2 separate regions of the Homo sapiens genome follow, and region 2 is linked to region 1. The links are contacts of gene promoters, found by promoter capture Hi-C in human tissues and cell types (Jung and others, 2019). All regions are on one chromosome and are shown on one strand. The core of a region is centred on a gene start or on the middle of the fragment in contact, and the rest is flanking DNA. Distances in the headings are between cores, read along the strand shown.

Region 1 (4,972 bases), core at 999-3,498:
AGCCCCCACTAGAACATAAGCTCTCTGAGAGCCGGTACCACTGCCAGCACACAGTGCCTGGCATATGGTAGGCTCTCAATCAATAATCTTTGGAGTATTTTTGTGTTTGTTGTTTACATGTTCTTATTTACTCAAGATCCTTGAAGTCCAGGGACAGAAATAGAGGTAGTTAGGGGCAGAAAGGAGCTCTTATTAAATCAACATGTGCAAGAAGAATATGACCAACAATTTAGGGGGTGAGGATGGAGCATATAAGCAAACTTATAATCTGCTTACATCACTTAAAGTTTCCCCCTTACATACCACATGGAAAAGAACCACAAGTGTCCCAAATCCTTTTGTCCTTCTGAATGATGCCACAAGAACACATACAAATGCTCTGCATTCAACAACCAAATTCTCTGTTATTCTAAAAGTTTAATTTCATACCCAAATTCTCAGGCAGCTATTATGTAAGGCTTGGGGCTAGTGCTTTCCAAACAAGTTTATACATGACATGATTGATGGATGAATTCATCCTGTTATCTGGAAATTCTTTTGTTTAATTGACGATGATAAATTTCCTAATGGATCACCTCGACTATGATACTACTTTTGTAGAAAGGGCCATTCACAGTGTTCCCTGGCCTCTTGCCCTCACTTCCAAAGTGTGTTCATACACCAGCCTGTATCTGAACAAGTCAGAAGTGGACAAGCCTAAGGCTGGGAAACAACAAGGTCACACCAAAGCTAAGGCTGACTTCCAATTCCAGGGCTTTTTGCCTATTTCATCCTTCTCAGAGCATGTGTAAATGGAATGAACTTTCTTATGGGAGCAAACGTGAAAATAGAAAGAAGTAAGACCTCAAGACTAATCTGAATCAAGGGAGTTGGAAATGCCTAGTCAGGGCTTCATCTTGCTCAAGTGCCATCCATTAAGGGTAAATGACCACCCCCAGACTTAGGACAGGAATCATCTGCTTCACTAAATCCCAGTTCCCTGGAGGGTGCCCTTCTGCTAAGTTGCACTGGCTGGTGTTACCAGCAATAGGGAGATTCTGTGCCCCACCTTCCCTCCCTGTTACTCTCCTCACACCTACTTCTCCTCTGTGGCATCCATACAGGGTAGGGGTCCAACCCACCTTTGCTATAGGAAGAAGCGAAGGCACAGACAAGCTCAACACGGGAGGGAGTGGGGCTGTAAATTTCCAAAGAGCTACGAATCCCCTGGAATGCTACAATTAATGATGCACATTTGGTGACAAATTTGACTTCAGGGGTATTTCTCCCTTGCTCATTTTATGCTGGGGTGGGAACAGCCCTGGCAGAGGGGCAGGGGAAAGTCAGGCAAGCTCTCCTGTCAGGCTGAATCGAGGGAACTCAAGAAATTTTGAAGGGTCAGGAAGAATTTGTGTGGGGCCTGGAGTGTGGAGAGGGGGGCATGGGGGCCTAGGGTTTGCTGGCTATATCAGTCTGGGGTCACAGACCCCTTGCAAAACTGATGAAAGCTGCGGACCTTCAGCTCAGAAAAGAATATTAGCATTGCACACAGTCGCGCAAATCAGCCTACAGTTTCAGAGGGGCCAAGGACTCCGGGAAGTTCCTGGAACCCAGGGCCTTAAGTTAAGGTCCCGGCTCTAGCTCCTGACTCCTGAAGTCCTCTGCCCCTTGTCCCCATGCTGGACTTGCCGGGCCTGGGGGCCTTCTAGCTGGTTCTGCAGCCGCCTTCCCTTGTCAGAGGAGCTTGGGCACCTGCCCCTCGCGGAGCTCCCCCTGGGTGCTCACCTATCCTGGGATAAGGAAAGGCGCCCCGAAGAAAAGGAGCAGCCGATGCCTGGGGCACCGAGGGCGACGCCGGGCAGACCAGGGAGGCACTGGCGAAGGGCAACGCGCGGGGGCAGGGCGGAGAGGTGAGGGAAGCTGCGAGCAACTCCGCCCAGCCCCAGCCAGTCGGCCCAACGACCCCTGCCGGTGCCCCAGAAACTCCCCCTCCCGGCTTTGCGCGCGCGGCCCCTCAGACCCCAGTGGGTTTCCCTTTGACCTCTGAAGGTTTAAAGTCCTTCTCTGGCTGGGTCTGGCCAGCCCTCCAGGAGCGATCCGTCTGTAGTCCCCAGGACCCCCTCCAGCCGGGCACCACAGCCCAGCCACAGCAGGTGCGGGGCTGGTGGTGGGGAGGGGAGGGATGGGGGCCAGGATTTGGAGCGTGTGACTCAGGAGTACGGGAGGAGGGGCTAAGAATTCAAGAAGCCTGTGTGAGAGCAGCTCGGCGCTCCGGCACAGCAGAGAGCGCTGGGAGCCGGAGGGGAGCGCAGCGGTGAGTCAGGCTGCCCCGAGCCGATCCCGAGAGGGGCGCAGCGCGGGCGCGGGCAGGGGTGGCTGGGCTTCGCGGGAGAGTTTGCAAGGATACCGGTCTGGCGAGCTCTCTGGTTACCCCCGAGGCTCCCGCAGGCCGAAGAGCAGCCCTGAGAAATGTCCCGAGTGGGTGTGGGGGCGCGGGACCCTCGCGGGAGGACGAGTCGGACCGAGGGAACAGCGTTAGTTCTGGTCGTGGAGTCCCTAGTCCCAGGATGGCCTGCAGTCCAGGGAGCAGCCCTGGCGCCTGCAGAAGCCCACGGCCATGCCAGGGTCTAGCTCGAGGGCTAGAAGTGGATAACGCGCAAGTGAGGGAGAGCGAATGGGCGCGGAGAGGGATGCGCCGGCAGCTGGCGCGCCAGGGCGGGAGGAGTGGCGGCCAGCACCGCGGGGGGAGCGCAGAGCGCGCTGGCTGAGGTGAGCGCCGAGTAGGGAAAGTGCTGCGCGGCCCCCAGGTAGGGGGAGGAGCGGAACGGGGCGCGCTAGACCTGGGGCAGTTCCCTCAGCGCGTCTCGGAAGGGCTGGGAGTCGTGACTGAGGGCCCCGGGGGTTAACGCAGGAAGTCTGCGAGCCAACGCCGGGGTCCGTCCGGCGTACCGGGGCCCTCCACGGAGCCGCGTTGGACAACCTCAGGTAGAGGTCGCCAAGGTTCAGCCCTGCCACTTGGGTCACACGCTTCATCTCCAGCTGTCTGCTGCCAGGTGTGGGAGAAGCGGGCGTGGAAGGTTAGGGCGGGGAGCGCCTTGAGTTCAGGCGAGGAGGATCTAGGGGAGGGAGAGAGGACTCAGGGGTCAGGGAGCTGCAACTTTGAGCCAGCAGAAACAAGCAGCTTAGCTCCCTCTAATTACAAACCTCCTTCTAAAAAAAAAAAAAAAAAAAAAAAAAAAAAAAAAAAAAACAAAAACAAAACAAAAAAAATTTCGAGATTCTTAAGGAAGGTGTTTCGTGCTTGAACTTTTTCTTCTCTTGTGATTTGAGAGATTAAAAAAGAGCCTGCTTGCTAGGCTGGTTTTTCCAAGTTGTTCCAGGTTGGAAGTTGTAACAGTTCGAAGGATAATTTATGAGTGTTTCATGCATTAAAGTGTATTACAGCAAAGCCTTTTGGGTGCTGTGGGTATTAAGGAAAACTTAGTGCACGTTCCCAGCTGGAAACCAAAATAGTGCTCTCCTGGGTGCCTCTGCCCCATCTGTCATCCAAGGCCAATGGAAATCCTGTAGAAAAGTCACTTGATTAATTGTTCTGGCTCCATCCTCTGGGCACACCCACTGCCAGTGCCAGTCCCCTCCTCCCCAATCCATGCACAGCCAGCTGCACTCTGCAAATGCAGAAATGACAGTGGAGACCCCATCAGTAACTTCTCTCCAGGGTCCTCAAACTCTTGAAGCCGTCAGTTAAGTCTGCTGGAAGGGAATCTTTCCCCTTCTCGAGGCAGTGCAGAAGGGCAGCAGCCATTGGCCCCTGCCAGCCCTTCTTATCCTGTGTTTACAGTTTCCTCCTGAATGTCTGAAACTTTCTCCCTCTGCAGAGTCACAGAAGAAAGAAGAAAGGCTGTATCAAACCTGATGGGTCTCTTTTGTTGAATAAGTCATACGTCAACCTGAGCAACCCAAATGTCAATTCATGATGGGCAGTGTTTCCAGAGGGTCAGAGGAGACAGGCGGGTCTGGGGGCTGAGACTGGCCTAGCTGGAATTGACTCACACAGAAAGTGAACATTCCTCTTGTTGAAGGGGGATAGGGTTAATGCCACATGTTGCCAAACTCCTACCCCACTCTTTCCCCAACATCTTTATGCAGGTGAAGGGAAAAAGGAAGCACCAAAAATGGGAAGCCAAGATCACTGGGGCATGAGAACACTAATTTGACAGAAGTATAGGAGCACCTCAGAGGATTTTAGAACCAGCTGCTGGCACCACTGCATTTCCAACAGCAGCCCAGGCCCACCAGAGAAATGAACTGGGCCCACTCAGGGCAGTCATCCCGGTATTGGTGACTCTTTCCCTACTTTTAACCTGTACCAAGGAATGAGGTTCTTGCCTTCTCCTATTGCCCACCCCACAACTCTCCTGCCCCAAGGGCCAGTGGGAGCAAGGAATGAGGCTTCACACTCTCATTCTCTTTCAGGGAGAAATCTGTGCCTTGGACAAGAAGGGGGCCCTGGTTGCCGACATCAGCAGGGAGAGTAGGGTAGGGCAGGGCAGGGCTGGAGCCCGAGGGAAGTTTCTCATCATTACCGAGAATAAACTGATGAAAAAAATCACACAACTTTACTTTTTAAAGAGTGCTGAGCACTCCTGCTGCTCATTGATGGAGTGCTTTACTGCAGTACCCTGCATCAGAGCAGCAGGGAAACTACACAGAGATTCAGCCACTGCTCTTCTCTACTGGGCATGGAGTAGGGCCAAGGCCCAGATCCCCAAGCAGATGTCAGTGCCAGACCTGGGAGCAGAGGCCCAGCCATTTACCTTTTCCAAGTAAGAACTTTCACTGACTTCAGAGTCTAGAGCAAGCCTTAAGAGACCTTTGCTGGCAGCAAATTCTCTGATCTCAGGAAGCAGTGGAAGGTTTGCTGACGGCTTGCATAAAATCTCTGGATATCTGTGTGCAAACAACCCATGCTCCCAGAAAACACCTTTCTGTG
Region 2 (4,972 bases), core at 724-3,223, 62 kb before region 1:
TGTGCCCTTTGTGTATTACTCAACTCTTCTCAATAGTGAAAATTAAGAGGTTGATTTTTAAAAAGATTTGAGGTTAGGATGAGCTGCCTGATATCAAGGGTAAGGAGAGATGGAAGATCAGACATACCAATTCATTGACAATTAGTGTAATTTTAGAGGCACTTTATGTTTTCCCTAAATGTTTCTTACATGTCTACTGCCAAGTAATGATACCTGAGCTTCCACTGGTAGATTCTCATTTCTCTATCATGAGATTTCATCCTAAATGTAGCCATACCTGCAGGTGTCTTTTATACCTCAGTACAAATAAATTTATCAGATTCTTTCATCAGACTGCTGGCACCATGGCTAAAAATGGGGTTGCTGATAAGGTGAAAAGAGGGGAGGAAGAGTGAATTAGATAAAGGCTGGGGCATCCCAACTTATTCTACTTGGAATTTGCTAAAGACTAAAGACTAACCTTTATCACAGTTTAGAAGCACAGAAATTCACAAGTGAGAAATGGTGCCCAAGACCTGAGATCCTGAGATTCTATAGCGCTGCAAGACAGACAAGTTTGATGGTTTTGATAATCAAGACTAAGACACCCCACCCTTTTTCCCCTGCCTTGGCTTGTAGTCATATGAGAGTTTCTGGTCTAGAACCAATCAGATTGCAGTAAGAGCCTGATGACATGGCAGGATGTCACCTGCCCCTATGGCACTCTGACAAAACAGCTACAGTCACTGATCCTCAATAAGGATGTTGAGAGTCAGATTTCACCTTTTTCTAGAGAGGCTCTCACTCTGTTGCCCAGGCTGAGTGCAGTGGCATGATCACAGCTCACTGCAGCCTCAGCCTCTCAGGCTCAAGTGACCCTCCCAGCTTAGCCTCCTGAGTAGCTAGGACTACAGGTATGCACCACCATGACCAGCTAATATTTTATTTTTATTTTGTGTAGAGACAGGAGTCTCATTATGTTGCCCAGGCTGGTCTTGAATTCCTGGACGCAAACAATCCTCTCACCTTGGCCTCCCAAAGTTCTGGGATTGCAGGCATGAGCCACTATGCCAGGTTTCACTTTTTTTTTTTTAAGTTTTATTATAACTCTGTGTTCCTTGTTCTCAGTTCTTATCGTTGTGCAAAGCACCTCATTTCTCAGTCCGCATCCACAGGCCAGTGCAGGCCTGCTAGGGAAGGGGGTGAGTCAGTGTCTCAAAGCCCCAGTACAATCGCCAATGGAACCTTCCACTCCTACCTTGGCAGATATTTGTGCCTGCATGCATTCATTCAAAAGCACGGATTGAACACTATCTGTGTGTTCAATAAAGTCCAGGATGCTGGCCTTGCCCTGTGATAGATATCAGAACAGTATCAGACACAGTTGTAGGCTGTGCTTATAACTGTACCGGGAGACCAGTCATAAATCTATGAAAAGTTGAGTCACAGTAGGAGGTAATGGGGGACTAACTATCCAAAGAGAACTATAGCAGGTCAGAAAAAGAGATCCCTGTAGGCTGGAGGGGTTAAGCTCCTTGCAGTAGGGATCAAGGTTTACCACATAGTGGATACTTAATAAATATTTGTTGAATAAGTGAGTGGATGGATTGATAGATGGAAGGATGATTAAATGATAAACAGATGGTTATTATTAAATGTTCCATGGAAGAGGTGGTTTTGAAAGTTCATTAGGCTTTTGATATTATAGATGATGTCCTAGTTCATTTGGGCTTCTATACCAAAATACCATAGACTGAGTAGCTTATAAACAACAGAAATTTATTGCTCACAGTTTTGGAGGCTGAGAAGTCCAAGATCAAGGCAGCAGCATATTCAATGTCTGGTGAGGGCCAATTTCCTTGTTCAGAGATGGCACCTTCTTGCTATGTCCTTACATAGTGGAAGGGGTTAGCTAGCTCTCTGGGGTCTCTTACAAGGTCACAAATCCCAATCATGAGGACTCCACCTTCATGACCTAATCAATCACTCTCCAAAGGCCCCACCTCCTAATACTATCACCTTGGGGGTTAGGATTTCAACACAGTAATTTTGGGGTAACACAAACATTCAGGCCACTGCAGAGGAGAAGAGGGAGGGCAGATCAGAAACAGTTCTTCTCCTCATGTTCCTCAGGACATTCAGCAGGACTGGGAAATCACCAAGATATAGCAAGCATTCACATACCTGAGGCCAACCCTAAGCCCTGAACAATGCCACAATTTTAACCTTGGTGGTAGAGACTCCCACTACTAGACAGGCTAGAATCCAAAAACAAGTGAGAGAAAGGAGAAGGGAAGCTTTTGGTTCTAAACACAACCTCAATGCCTATGAGCACAAGCTTCTTCCACCAGTGACTTGTTCATCCATGTAGCAGGCTGACAGAAAGCCCAGATCACCAGGACTGCCTGTATCCATGGTTAACAATAAACAAACCAGAGCCTACTTTTATCAGTCACAAGTTGGGCACAAAAGTTGGTGTGAAAATGGGAATTCAACAGGTCCTAATTTTCCCCATCCCTTTCTGGTGGGCCCTGCCAGCTTTGGGCTTCCAATCTGAACCCTGACTTTTCCCCAAGCTGATCCACTTGATCCATAACCACAAGCTCTTAATACCAAGTACTTAATACTTCTAAGCACAGCAACAGAATCAGACCTATTGTAAGACTCAGTAAGCTCATCCTGCCAACTTGCAGGCAGCAAGAGGTATTCAAGCTGAAGGCAGGGACGACGTTTGCTTTTATATTCCCAGCACTTAGCACAGTGCCTGACACAGAGTAGGTACCCAGCAAATACTTGTTGAATGAAGGAGGAAAGCAGCTCCAGTTCCATAATGCAGTGCAGGTCAGGCCTCTGCCAGTTTTCCCCTGCCCTAAACCCTAGTTTAGATAACTGGACTTTGACACTGCTATGATCTGAGAACCTACTATCAGGAGTGGAGTTCCTACTTTTGTTTCAATACCCAAGACTGAAATTTCCCGTAGGACCCAAATCTATTATCTTTTTCTTGGACAGCAAGTTGTTTGCATTTCTCAGATGTTGCTTTTCCCAGATTACCTTTGGCCTCTTTGTTCGCAGGCTCTCAAATACATACTCATTTTTCCCTCTGTCCCCAACTCTCCTCTGTATTGGTTTCTATTCATGCTCCAAAGCTTATCTTGACCATCACCTCCTCTTGGAAGCCTACCCAGGTGTGGATGTGTATAATGTATAATACGCCATCATATAATGTGTACATATCTGTACTCATTAAGTTGCACTGCAATCACTAATCCACTTATCTCTTCTCCATACTTGACTGTGAGCAAAGAGAGAAAAGGGATCACGTGTTCATCTTTGTATCCTCATCATGTACAATAGTGTCTAGCACACAGTGTTCCATAAAAGTTTTAAAAACGAGTGAGTGAATGAATGAATGAATGTCTTTACCCATCAGGATGGCCCAAGCTGACACTTGTTCTTGCTCTGACCTGGATGCCAAATGTTGCCTCTCACCCTGACTATTCCCTTGCCTTGGAGCTTGTAGGTCAAGTGCCTGAACTACTCCCTCTCCCTCCCACTTACCACCCTCCTGCCACAAGTGCTTTGCCGTATGTTGTGAATTATGTGGTACTGTGCGAGGGTAGAATGCCTTGTTTAGCATTTGCCACAGTAGGGTCCCATCAGATGCACATTTAACTTTTATAAATTCAACTATATGCCCTCACTGCCTGTGATTTCAGAATTTAATAATACACATTTCTATGCAATTTGGCTCCTAAATATATGCCTTCTATTTCATTTGGAACATGGAAACACTCATTTGTTCAAAGAGTAAGGGTAAAACCATTAGATTTATTTAAAGATGATAGACTTCGTTCTGTATTTTTGGACAAATTAAAGGATTTTTCTAGAATAATTTTTATCTATAAAATGTTTTTACTTTATGATCTGATTTTATTGTGTGCTTTAAAATTTTCATCTGTATAATTTAGTATATACTTCCTAAAGACAAGGATTCCTTATTAAACACAATCACAATACCATCATCACAAACACACCCAACATAATTCCTTAATATTATCAAATGTCCTTTAATGTTCTATACATGTTTCTTTTTATTTTTAAACTTTTTCTAAGTTGGAAGTTTGAAATGGGATCTAAATAAAGCCAACACTTTCAATTGATTAATATATCTCTTGAATTTCTTTTACTATATGTTTAAAAATGTTCCTTTTCCATTGCTTTTTTTTAAAAAAATTACACTTTGTTATTGTTGTAAAACCACATTGTTTAACTTACAGTTTCCCATAGTCTATTGCATCTTCATGGTTTTTGTTAACATGTTACTTTGTTCTCTGTGTATCCTTCAAATGGTAGTTAGATCTGGAAGCTTGATTAGATTAATATTTTTAAAAAATACTATATAGGAAGTGCTGTGTTTCCACCAGGAGGTACAAGATGTCTGGTTGTCTCCTGTTTTTGACCATTGATGATTGTTGCCTAGATGCATTATTTCATTAAGTTTTGCAAATTGGTGAAATTCTAATTCCATCATTTCTTCTTCAAGTATTAACAGAAATACTTGTAAAAGGCAAACTTTTCCTCATCTATTATTTATTTACCTTAAGCTACAGTTTTTTTTAGGAATGGCAAAATTAATACTTGATTGTTTTCTTTTACTTCCCAGTTTTAAAAATATTAAGTAGGTCTTCTAATATCCTTTAGAGGGAATCAATGAAAAATAATTTAAACTATTATTATATATGCATGGATTTGACACATTTCATGTATTTTATTCTATTGTGGATATTATCTGTATTGATGCTTTGATTGTTCCCCTTCATCCAAAGGGAGACTATTTAATTGGCTCCTAAGCCATTTCTACTAGTAGTTGCTGATGGGTACTTTTGCATTTTGGTATGACAAGACTTCTCAGACTCATTTTGTATATTTCCTACCCCACACCTCAAATCAGCCATTTATTTATCCAAGAAGCCCTGGTTTCTTTTGGTGG

The links. The method cuts DNA at HindIII sites, captures the fragments that hold promoters and counts their contacts. A contact is called where the count stands out against the background at its distance.
Region 2: a contact is called between a fragment that was not itself captured here and the fragment with the promoter of NGF in region 1, in 1 of the 25 tissues and cell types used here (aorta).

The regions. Positions count from the first base shown.
Region 1 is chr1:115,335,525-115,340,496 of GRCh38, reverse strand. It overlaps NGF (nerve growth factor), which reads left to right and starts at 2,248. Exons shown (of 3, transcript NM_002506.3): 1 at 2,248-2,293. All of the region lies in intron 1 of NGF-AS1 (NGF antisense RNA 1), which reads right to left. The HindIII fragment of the contact is 13,066 bases long and covers 1-4,972 here.
Region 2 is chr1:115,396,830-115,401,801 of GRCh38, reverse strand. No RefSeq gene overlaps it. Among named protein-coding and RNA genes, the nearest start is that of NGF, 61 kb to the right of the region's middle. The HindIII fragment of the contact is 3,531 bases long and covers 208-3,738 here.